Linked DNA regions of Homo sapiens: all the other regions are linked to region 1. Evidence: promoter capture Hi-C in 16 types of primary human blood cells and fetal thymus (Javierre and others, 2016). All regions are on one chromosome and are shown on one strand. The core of a region is centred on a gene start or on the middle of the fragment in contact, and the rest is flanking DNA. Distances in the headings are between cores, read along the strand shown.

Evidence for each region. Contacts are between HindIII fragments. The CHiCAGO score rates a contact against its expected background, and 5 or more counts as called.
Region 2: a contact is called between the fragment with the promoter of ANGPTL8 here and the fragment with the promoter of ELAVL3 in region 1, in 10 of 17 cell types (neutrophils, M2 macrophages, M0 macrophages and 7 more). The highest score is 25.1, in neutrophils.
Region 3: a contact is called between a fragment that was not itself captured here and the fragment with the promoter of ELAVL3 in region 1, in 2 of 17 cell types (erythroblasts and endothelial precursors). The highest score is 7.3, in erythroblasts.
Region 4: a contact is called between a fragment that was not itself captured here and the fragment with the promoter of ELAVL3 in region 1, in 2 of 17 cell types (erythroblasts and endothelial precursors). The highest score is 6.1, in erythroblasts.

The regions. Positions count from the first base shown.
Region 1 is chr19:11,479,627-11,482,487 of GRCh38, forward strand. ELAVL3 (ELAV like RNA binding protein 3) reads right to left here and starts at 1,420. Exons shown (of 7, transcript NM_001420.4): 1 at 974-1,420. The coding sequence starts at 982. RefSeq lists silencers at 1-132, 2,507-2,756, 2,787-2,861. The HindIII fragment of the contact is 20,383 bases long and covers 1-2,861 here.
Region 2 is chr19:11,238,170-11,241,030 of GRCh38, forward strand. ANGPTL8 (angiopoietin like 8) reads left to right here and starts at 1,450. Exons shown (of 4, transcript NM_018687.7): 1 at 1,450-1,765; 2 at 1,966-2,127. The coding sequence starts at 1,469. DOCK6 (dedicator of cytokinesis 6) reads right to left here. Exons shown (of 48, transcript NM_020812.4): 15 at 18-135. The HindIII fragment of the contact is 20,410 bases long and covers 1-2,861 here.
Region 3 is chr19:11,300,447-11,303,307 of GRCh38, forward strand. TSPAN16 (tetraspanin 16) reads left to right here. Exons shown (of 7, transcript NM_001282509.2): 4 at 755-862. TSPAN16-AS1 (TSPAN16 antisense RNA 1) reads right to left here. Exons shown (of 3, transcript NR_187778.1): 2 at 1,049-1,186; 3 at 345-790. Among named protein-coding and RNA genes, the nearest start is that of TSPAN16, 5.7 kb to the left of the region's middle. The HindIII fragment of the contact is 4,606 bases long and covers 1-2,861 here.
Region 4 is chr19:11,318,766-11,321,626 of GRCh38, forward strand. It overlaps TSPAN16-AS1 (TSPAN16 antisense RNA 1), which reads right to left and starts at 2,560. Exons shown (of 3, transcript NR_187778.1): 1 at 2,459-2,560. It also overlaps a transcript of TSPAN16 not described here. The HindIII fragment of the contact is 4,796 bases long and covers 1-2,861 here.

The DNA of each region.
Region 1 (2,861 bases), core at 170-2,669:
CGAGGCCGGGCCCCCGGGGCCCTGGGGGCGGGGCCTAGATGGGCGTGCCCGGGCGTGGCCAGGCAGGGCGTGGCAGGGCGGGAGGGGCTGCGCGCTCGGGAGCTGACCAGCTCCGTGGCTGCTGAAAGCACCGAGCGCGGGGCTAGCGGTGCGGGCGAGCAGGCGGGCGGGCCGCGCTCAAGGTCACCTCGCGGCCCAGAGCCTTGGCGAGGTGGGGAGCCTGGACCTGGCCTAAGGGGGCTGTCTCGGCCTCCCACCCCATCTCCCGGGGGGCGGAGACCCGGGAGCCCAGAGGTGCCCCCCCAACCCGCGGGCCCTCCTCTCCCCTCCCCCTCCCCGCAGCCCGAGGCGCCCGCGCGAGGCTGCGGCCCGCGAAGAAGCGCCGAGAAACAAAGGGACGCGGCAGCAGCGGCGGCGGGCCCGCGGGGCCTCCGGGCGCGCCCCCTCCTCTCCCCTCCCCGCTTGCCGCAAGGTCGACGGGCTCGAGGACGAGACGCCCGCCTCCCGGGTGCGGCCGAGGCCCGGGGCGCGCGATCCGACGCCACCCGCTTTCCCAGGGCTCTCGGGGACGCTTTGTCGCTTTGGCTTGGCCCAGCACCAGTGATCGGGCCCTGCGTTTGCCTGGGCGGCCTGCGGGGTCTGGGCCTGGATGGAGGAAGCATCCTTAGCCGCCGCGGCCCCTCCCCCATCAGGCCTGCTGGAGAGGGGGCAATCCCGCCTCCAGGGCGGCGTCGGACGCCTCCCGAATCGCAGTCAGTCTCCCTAAGGCCCTCTCAGACCAAGCTCTAAGCGCCCTCAGCACTCTGGGCGCGGCCCTGCCCACTCTCAGGCCCCGAGGCTTGGTCCTACCCCCCCAACCCGGGCCTAGCTAGGCCTGGTCCTACCCCCCCCGCCGCACCCGCCCAATCTCCGCGGAGCCTGGGCCCAACTCCTCCCCGTCCCGATTCCCTTTCGGCGACAGGGGAATACCTACAGTGACCATTCTTGTGTGCCCGGCGGGCGCGGTCCGTGTTGAGGGGGGCTCCGGGGGTGGTGCACTCCTAGGGGGGCGCCCGATGCTCACGCTGGGGTCCCGCCCGGGCGGCCTCTGGTGCGGCCGCTGCAGATGTGGCGATGAAGGCGGCGGCTCCCTCGAGGGCCAGGGACGGGCCCGAACCCGGGGATGCGCGCGCGGATGGCCGGGCCCCGGGGTGGCCTGCGGGCGGCAGGGGATGGAAAGAGGGAGCGGGCGCGGGGTTGAGGACGCCCCCTGCGCGGCCCCGCGGGGCCCGGGGAGGTTGCGCTTCCCGACAGAGATCGCGGCGCTCTGCCTTTCGCCGCCGCCCCTCGGTCGGTCCTGTCCGGTCCCGTGTGTTCAAGTCCTCTCCCCTCGCCCACCCTCCCTCCCTCCCTCCGGCCCGCGCTGCGCGCTCCGCGCTCTGGACCGCGCCGCCGCCGCCCCCAGCCCTTTATAGCAGCAGCTGCCAGCGCCGGCGTCGCTCATTGGCTGCGGCGACCGAGCTCCGCCTCCTCGCGGCTCCCGACGGCGCGGCAGGTGGAAGTGAGCGCGCACTGGTCGGGACTCTGAATCCCCCAAAAGCGCATCCTAGGTGCTCGGGTTGCCAGATTTGGGCCCTCCTTCCCTCGAGGCCCTTGCTTCCTACCCTGGCACCCCTTCTTGGGCTGGCTTTCGGGCCAGGAGACGGGCTCCCCTCCTCCGTCCAGCTCCTAGAGCTGGAGGAGCCAACAGAGCGAGGAGGTATTAGTGGCCTGAATATGCGACCTTCCAGAGGTGTTGTCCACTGAGGGAACTGGACAGGGGATCAGGAACCAATATTTTAGTAGGCAGAGGCCTGGGTCCCCAGATTTGGAGGCACCAGTGTAGACCACCTCAAGACCACGGGGGAGGGTGGCTACTGTGGCCCTAGTCTTCTGCAGAAGGAGACTGGGACGCTGTTGGTTTTGAGTGAGCTGGATCCTTCTAGGGTTCAAAAGGTAAGGACTGGCACTCCCCAGTGCAAGGAAACTCCGCACTGCTCCGAAGGGGGTGAAAAGGTTTGGGGCTCAGTGTTCTGGACAATCATCGCTGGAGCCATGCAGCTCTGGGAAACCACGGATCCTTCTTGGACCCCACAGAACTGGGGTGGGTGGATCTGCCACATAAATGTCCTGGCTTTCTAGGCTCGTGATTGGTCCTCCTGACTGTGGAGTCATGCTCGCTCTCTGCTAGGGGGAACCTGGCCTCTCTCTAAGGCGTTGGGGGTGGCGCAGCCTCCTTTGGTGCGCGGGCGCCGGTGCATGTTTACGTCGGGGCGCGGGAACTAGCACACACTGGGGCGGGGTCGCCAGGGCGTGAGGCTTCAGCACCACAGACAGCAATCCGACAGTCCGGTCGAGGGCGCTGCCGGCGAGGTAGCCCAGACCCCCTAACTGGAGAGCGGCAGTCCCCACCCAATCCTCGTTCCTGCACGCCCTTTAGGCTCCAGACTGTCAGAGAGCGCCACCAGCGAGGAGAGCCTAATTTGCCCAATCAGGGGCGGCCCTTGAGATAACCAGTTACTGGAAGATGCCCTAGAGATCGAGCCAATGGGAGTGCGCGCACCAGGGGATGCTGCCACGCCTGGAAAGGGCAGGCCAATCGCAGTGGCCCGCGCAATAGGGGCGGTGGCGGTGCAGATCCCCGGGTGGCCCCTCTTGGGCTCGCCGGGGCGACCTGGCTGCGGGCGCTAGGGGCCCCAAGCGATGGTCTGTTCCCCACCCCGTGTTCCTCCCGGTTTCCGTCATCGGAAACTGAGCTAGGAGGGGGGCTGCTCCTGGGCGCGCGGACCCCGCTGCGGTTCCCATGGAAACCTGCCGGCTCCGGCAGTGCGGGGAGAGTGGAG
Region 2 (2,861 bases), core at 200-2,699, 240 kb before region 1:
GGGGCACAGCCACTGACCGGCAGAGCCTGGCTGGGGTCCTCGCCTGTCATGTACTGCACTCGCACAGCAAGGTTGCGCACGGAGCCCTGGCGGCTGCTGAAGTTGAGGCTGTGCGGGTACACGTACAGCAGGTTCCTGTGGGGGGCAGGATGGGGGTGTCAGAGGGACAGGGGCCCTGAAGGTGCACATACAAGGCTGGGGTGATGGGACAAGGCTGGCTGGGAGCACAGACAGTCCAGGAAGAGTAGGTCATGAGGCTGGGGCATTGAGGGCCCGGTGAGAGGTAATACAGGTATCAGTCAGGAGATAGGACAGAGGGCAGAGGGTGGGGGACAAGCGAGCACCCTAAAAACACAGATTGGGAACAGTGTGGTAGAGGGTGGGAATACAGAAGGACATTGGAGGCACTCATGGGGCACAGTGACACACAGAAGGCAGAGAATAGCGAGGCACTCAGGGCCAGAGTTCCAAGGTACCTCAGGTGGCCAGTGGTCAAGCCTAAGCCCCACCCAAGGGCCTGACTGCCCTTCCCCCAGGAGGTCACTAGAGTTATGTGGCCTGTTTCTCAGGTGGGGAAACTGAGGCCAGAGTCCGAGTCCTGCCTCCTTCCCCCAGGGGCAACTCTGTGCAAGCCTTGACCCCTCTCTGGGCCTCAGTTTCCCTATGTGTATAATGGGCACTTCAGGCCTTCCAGCTGAGCCTTTGTAATGATACTGATGATGATAAATAACAACAATGACAATAATTGCACCAAACACTATTACTACAACAATGAAATAATCGCGCCTACTGTGTGCCAGGCTCTGTTCTAAGCACTCAACATGAAATAACTCATTTACTTCTCACAAGTAGCTCATGAGGCAGGACTAACATCACCGCCATTTTACAAGCAGGGAAACTGAGGTACTTGCACAATCACCCACGGAGTAAAATGGCAGTCAGTGGTGATCTGGGCATATGCAGGTCTTGGAGATCAGGCTGTGTGACCTTGGGAGAGTCTCTGCCACCTGCACCTGCCCCCTTGGATACTAACCAGGCCAATAAAAGCCCCCACGTGGCAAGTATGTGGGAGGGGAACAAGAGCAGATATTGTAATGGCAGGTCAAACAGCTCAGGGCAAACCATCAATGCTTATAAAATCTTTACTGTTATTACCATCATCATTGCGATGCCTATTCATAGATGGAGAAACAGGCTCAGCATGGTGAGTCTCAGGAACTCCCAGCAGGGTCTGGGGCCCGTCCTCTCCCAATGCCCCCCACCCACACCTGGCCCTGAGCCCCAGGAAGCGTGATCCCGGCGTGGCCTAGCCGGACATTCGCCTGATGCAACTATCGCACCACTGCCAGGCCCTTGTGCAATGCGGGGCACCAGGTCGGCCAGTTAACGATTGACTGGGGATCAGTGGGGGTATGAGGCATAAAAGGCTTCAGTGACAGTGCTGTGGCTATACCTTAGACCCTCAGTCATGCCAGTGCCTGCTCTGTGCCTGCTCTGGGCCCTGGCAATGGTGACCCGGCCTGCCTCAGCGGCCCCCATGGGCGGCCCAGAACTGGCACAGCATGAGGAGCTGACCCTGCTCTTCCATGGGACCCTGCAGCTGGGCCAGGCCCTCAACGGTGTGTACAGGACCACGGAGGGACGGCTGACAAAGGCCAGGAACAGCCTGGGTCTCTATGGCCGCACAATAGAACTCCTGGGGCAGGAGGTCAGCCGGGGCCGGGATGCAGCCCAGGAACTTCGGGCAAGCCTGTTGGAGACTCAGGTGGGCACCGTAGCTGCGACACTGTGGGGTGGCCAGGAGTCCAAAGAGGAGTTCGTGTCTAGGGTAACCAACCATCCTGGTTTGCCCAGGACTGAAGGGATTCCTGGGATACAAGATTTTCAGCGATAAACTCAGGCAAGTCCTTAGGTACACAAAGATGAGTTGGACATCCTACTAGTGACCCACTGTTTATTAAGCAGATGGAGGAGGATATTCTGCAGCTGCAGGCAGAGGCCACAGCTGAGGTGCTGGGGGAGGTGGCCCAGGCACAGAAGGTGCTACGGGACAGCGTGCAGCGGCTAGAAGTCCAGCTGAGGAGCGCCTGGCTGGGCCCTGCCTACCGAGAATTTGAGGTCTTAAAGGTAAGGAGCTCCCCCAACCCTAGTGGGCTGAGACCCTGATTTCCGGCCAGAACTCGCTTCTGCACCTTGAGTCCCAAAGACCTCCCAGATCAGCCTCCCAGCTCTGTGGCCTCTACCCTGCATGTCCCCAGACAAAACTCAAGTCCTTTTGTGTGCCTCAGTTTCCCTTTTGTGTGCCTCAGTTGCAAATAAGGGCAACACCTGATATCTCACAGTAGGGCCAGGTACTCAATGCAGGTAAAATATTCAGCATGGGGCGGGCACACAGTTGGTGCTCAATAAATTCTTTTTTTTTTTTTTTTTGAGACAGAGTCTCACTGTTGCCCAGGCTGGAGTGCAGTGGTGTGATCTTGGCTCACTGCAACCTCCACCTCCTAGGTTCAAGTGATTCTCCTGCCTCAGCCTCCTGAGTAGCTGGAATTACAGGTGCACCAGCTAATTTTTGTATTTTTTAGTAGAGATGGGATTTCACCATGTTGGCCAGGCTGGTCTCGAACTCCTGACCTCAAGGGATCTGCCTGCCTCGGTTTCCCAAAGTGCTGGGATTACAGGTGTGAGCCACTACACCTGGCCAATAAATTCTTACTACTAGAGAAACTGGTAACATTTTGTGAGCACCCAGTAAGTACCCAGCACTGTTCTATGCCCTTTAATAATCCATATGATGGCCGGGCATGGTGGCTCATGCCTGTAATCCCAGCACTTTGGGTAGCTAAGGTGGGTGGAACACTTAA
Region 3 (2,861 bases), core at 191-2,690, 180 kb before region 1:
CACTTGCTGGCACTAGGGAGTCAGGCCAGTAGGCACAGAACTGACAAGGGCCACAGAGTTATGGGCAGGCCACCAAGAGCCCCTGCTACTCCTGTCGAGAACAGCCAGACGCAGAAAAATGAGTGCAGCATAAACCAAAGAGGAAGAATAGTGAAAATATACTTTGCTTTGACACACATAGAAGAACATCTCTTTGGGGACACAGGAAACAGTTAACAGTCATTGGCATGGAGTGGGAGGAAACTTTTGGCTGGGAGGAAGGGGTGGGAGAGAGACTTTTCATGGTCTGTTCTCCTGTGCATGTCAATTTCGAACCACGTGCCTCTATCATCGCTTTGCAAAAGGATTTTTTAAACCTTTATTTAAAAAACAGAAAATTAAATGTGCCCCTTTTGTGCAGACAGAGATTCCGTGGAAGATGATATTCAATTCTTTAATGGAGTTACAGCCACATCGTGGGTGCAGCAGGGTGTAGGCGATTCCAAAGAGCAGATGATTCAAATTCGTGTGCGATGGGTACAGAGAGATACGCTTGGCTCCAGACCCACGCGTCTCCCTGTTTCCCTCTCTTGTGGTGGGGGCACAGTAGCCTTCGTGTGTCTTCCTCTAGCACAGACCCCTGAGCTGAGGGTAGGAAAAATGAAGGCAGCACGAGGGACGCTCCCACCTCCCACTCTATCCTCAAGAACCTCGGCCAATGAACGGGCCACTCTTGCTAGTTGGGGTACTGATCACTTCCTGTCCTCTCTGTGAGGTTGGAGATGTGGCCTTGGAACACACCTTCGTGACCCTGAGGAAGAATTACAGAGGTTACAACGAGCCAGACGACTATTCTACACAGTGGAACTTGGTCATGGAGAAGGTGAGGCTTACTTAAAAAAAAAAAATTGTGGTGTAAAGGTACACAACATGGGCGGGCGAAGTGGCTCACACCTGTAATCCCAGCACTTTGGGAGGCCGAGGTGGGAGGATCACTTGAGGTCAGGAGTTTGAGACCAGCTGAGCCAACATGGTGAAACCCCGTCTCTACTAAAAATACAAAAATTACCTCCGTGTGGTGGCAGGCATCTGTAGTCTCAGCTACTCAGGAGGCTGAGGCAGGAGAATAGCTCGAACCCAGGAGGTAGAGGTTGCAGTGAGTTGAGATGGCACCACTGCATCCCAGCCTGGGCGACAGAGGGAGGCTCTGTTTAAAAAAAAAAAAAAAAGCCAGTCACAGTGGCACATGCTTGTGGTCCCAGCTACTAAGGAGGCTGAGGTGGGAGGATCACTTGAGTCCAGGAAGTCAAGGCTTCAGTGAACTATGATGGTGCCACTGCACTCTAGCCTGGGTGACAGAGCAAGACCCTGTATCTTGTAAACATGAAATGTATCGTTTAACATTTTTTTTTTTTTGAGTTGGAGTCTCATTCTGTTGCCTAGGCTGGAGTGCAGTGGCGCAATCTCAGCTCACTGCAACCTCCACCTCCCAGGTTCAAGCAATTCTCCTGTCTTAGCCTCCCAAGTAGCTGGGATTAGAGGCGCCCACCACCACACCTGGCTAATTTTTGTATTTTTAGTAGAGACGGGGTTTCACCATATGGGTCAGGCTGGTCTCAAACTCCTGACCTCAGGTGATCCACCCGCCTTGGCATCCCAAAGTTCTGGGATTATAGGCGTGAGCCACCGTGCCCGGCCCCATTTAACAATTTTGAAGTGTGCAGTTCAGCGGCATTAAGCACATTCGCATTGTTGTGCGACCATCACCACCATCTCTAGAACTTCCTTATCTTCCCAAACTAAAACTCTGTCCCATGAAACGCTCACTCCACATTCTCCCTCCCCAAGCCCCTGGCACCCACCATGCTCCTGTCTGTCTATATGAATCTGACGACTCTAGGGACCTCCTAGGAGTGAAATCAGGCAGTGTGTGTCTTTACTAAAAATACAAACATTAGCCAGGCATGGTGGCGTGTGCCTGTAATCCCAGCTACTCGGGAGGCTGAGGCAGGAGAATCGCTTGAATCCGGGAGGCAGAGGCTGCGGTGAGCCAGGATCATGCCACTGCATTGCAGCCTGGGCAACAGAGTGAGGCTCCATCTCAAAAAAAAAAAAAAAAAAAAAAAGGGATTTGCTAGATTCTATGGCAATTCTGCTTTGTATATATACATATATATTTATATACATATGTATATAAATATATATATACACACATACATATATATATACACATACATATATATATATATATATACACACACACACACACACACACACACACATACATATATATATTCACATATATATTTTTGAGACAGGATCTCACTCTGTTGCCCAGGCTGGAGTGCGGTAAGGGGATCATGGCTCACTGCAACCTCTGCCTCCCAGGCTGAAGCAACCTTCCCACCTCAGCCTCTTGAGTAGCTGGGACTGCAGGTTCGTGCCACCATGCCTGGCTAATTTTTTTTTTTTTTTTTGTAGATATGGGGTTTCACCATGTTGCTCAGGCTGATCTTAAAAACTCCTGGCCTCAGCCGCCCCGTCCGGGAGGTGAGGGGCGCCTCTGCCCGGCCGCCCCTACTGGGAAGTGAGGAGCCCCTCTGCCCCGCCACCACCCCGTCTGGGAGGTGTGCCCAACAGCTCATTGAGAACGGGCCAGGATGACAATCGCGGCTTTGTGGAATAGAAAGGGGGGAAAGGTGGGGAAAAGATTGAGAAATCGGATGGTTGTCGTGTCTGTGTAGAAAGAAGTAGACATGGGAGACTTTTCATTTTGTTCTGTACTAAGAAAAATTCTTCTGCCTTGGGATCCTGTTGATCTGTGACCTTACCCCCAACCCTGTGCTCTCTGAAACATGTGCTGTGTCCACTCAGGGTTAAAT
Region 4 (2,861 bases), core at 362-2,861, 160 kb before region 1:
CCTCCTGAATAGTTGGAGTTACAGGTGCCCGCCACCACACACGGCTAATTTTTGTATTTTTAGTAGAGACGGGGTTTTGCCATGTTGGCCAGGCTGGTCTGGAACTCCTGACCTCAAGTGATCCTCCCACCTCAGCCTCCCAAAGTGCTGGGATTACAGGCGTAAGCCACTGCCCCCAGCCAGAAATAAACTTTTTTACCCACACTTCTGACACCAAACATGTGGGGTTTTCCACACCAAGTAATTCTCCAATTCTCTGTGGACACCCGCTGGGTGTTCTACAATTCAGTTCTGACACCAATTACCCAGAGTTGGTGTGTGACCCCACAGATTTAAGGGCTGAGTCCCACAAAACTGAGCTTCCCTCACTTCAGAGGTATCAAGTATTGAGTTCCCAGGTTACCCATATTTCTGTCCAATGTGGCTACAAAGTCAGGGGGGGTTCTCACAAGCCCCCTCCCTTTCAGGTTTGATAATTTGCTAGAATGACTCACGGATCTCAGGCAAGTGTTTTACTTACTACTCCTGATTTATTATAAAGGAGACAACTCAGGCCAGGCGCAGTGGCTTATGCCTGTAATCCCAGCACTCTGGGAGGCCAAGGCGGGCGGATCACGAGGTAAGGAGTCTGAGACCAGCCTGGCCTATATGATGAAACCCCGTCTCTACTAAAAATGCAAAAGTTAGCCGGGCGTGGTGGCACACGCCCTGTAATCCCAGCTACTCCGGAGGCTGAGGCAGAAGAATCGCTTGAACCGGGAGGCGGAGCTTGCAGTGAGCCGAGATCGCGCCACTGCACTCCAGCCTGGGCGACAGAGCGAGACTCTGTCTCAAAACAAACAAAACAAAACAAAACAAAACAAAAAAACAAAAAAAGGAGACAACTCAGGAACAGCCAAATGGAAGTGATAAAGAGGGCAATGTGTGGGGGATGGTGTGCAGCACTTCCACACCCTTTCTTGGGGAGGGGGGCACCACCCTTCCAGCACCTCCATGTGTTCATCAACTCAGAAGCTCTCCAAACCTGTCATTTAGGTTGTATTTTGTTTTGTTTTGTTTTGTTTTTTGAGACGGAGTCTCGCTCTGTCGCCCAGGCTGGAATGCAGTGACGCGATCTTGGCTCACTGCAAGCTCCACCTCCCGGGTTCACGCCATTCTCCTGCCTCAGCCTCCCGCGTAGCTGGGACTACAGGCGCCCGCCACCACGCCCGGCTAATTTTTTTGTTGTATTTTCAGTGGAGACGGGGTCTTACCGTGTTAGCCAGGATGATCTCGATCTCTTGACCTCGTGACCTGCCCGCCTCCGCCTCCCAAGGTGCTGGGATTACAGGCCTGAGCCACTACGCCCGGCCAGGACTTTTTTTTTTTTTTTTGAGACGGAGTTTCTCTCTTGTCATCCAGGCTGGAGTGCAATGGCACGATCTCGGCACACCCCAACTTCTGCCCCACTTGTTCAAGCGATTCTCCCGCCTCAGCCTCCCGAGTAGCTGGGATTACAGGCATGTGCCACCAGGCCCAGCTATTTGTTATATTTTTAGTAGAGATGGGGTTTTGTCATGTTGGCCAGGCTGATCTCAAACTCCTGACCTCAAGTGATCCTCCTGCCTCAGCCTCCCAAAGTGCTGGAATGACAGGCATGAGCCACCACACCTGGCCAATCCTAGCACTTTGGGAGGCCAAGGCGGGAGCATGGCTGGAAGCTGGGAGTTCAAGACCAGCCTGGGCAACATAGCAAGATCCCATCTCTCAATCACTCAATCAGCTGGATGTGGTGGTGCTTGCTTGTAGTTCCAGAAACTCAGGAGGCTGAAGTGGGAGGATCCTTTGAGTCCAGGAGTTCGAGGCTGCAGTGAGCCATGATTGTGCCACTGCACTCCAGCCAGGGCCATACGGCAAGACCTTGTCTCCAAAAAAAAAAAAAAGAAAAGAAAAGAAAAAGAAAAAAGAAATGCTGGGGAGGGAGATTGCAGTACTAAATCAGGGGAGGGGGCAGTGAGAAAGTGAGATTTGCACAGTAGCCCAAAAGAGGAAGTTCAGTTAGGGGAGCTTTGTTGTATTAGTCTGTTTTCCTACTGCTGGAAAGAACTGCCCAAGACTGGGTAATTTATAAAGGAAAGAGGTTTGCCCGTGTACGGTGGTTCACGCCTGTAATCCCAGCATTTTGGGAGGCCAAGGTGGGCAGATCATGAGGTCAGGCGTTCGAGACCAGCCTGGCCAACGTGGTGAAACCCCGTCTCTACTAAAAACACAAAAATTAGCCAGGCGTAGTGGAGTGTGCCTGTAATCCCAGCTACTCGGGAGGCTGAGGCAGGAGAATTGCTTGAACCTGGGAGGCGGAGGTTGCAGTGAGCCAAGATGGCACCACTGCACTCCAGCTGGGTGGCAGAGTAGGACTGAGTCTCAAAAAAAAAAAAACAAAAAAATACCCAAAAAAACATAAGAGGTTTAATTTACTCACAGTTCAACATGGCTGGGGAGGCCTCAGGAAATTTACAATTATAACAGAAGGCAAAGGGGAAGCCAGATACCTTCTTCACAAGGTGGCAGGAAGGAGAAGAGCCGAGAGAAGGCGGAAGAATCCCTTATAAAACCATCAGATCTCGTGAGAACTCACTTGCTATCAGGAGAACAGCATGGGGGAACCGCCCCCAGGATTCAATGACCTCCACCTGGTCTCTCCCTTGACACGTGAGGATTATGGGGATTACAATTCCAGATGAGATTTGGGTGGGGACACAAAGCCAAACCATATCAACTGTGACTACCTTGGGTAAGGGCCATCCAGGCAGAGGCAGGGGGAACATTCTGGGCAAAGGCCTTGGGGCAGGGGCCTGGTATGTTCAGATAGCAGCAAGTAGGCC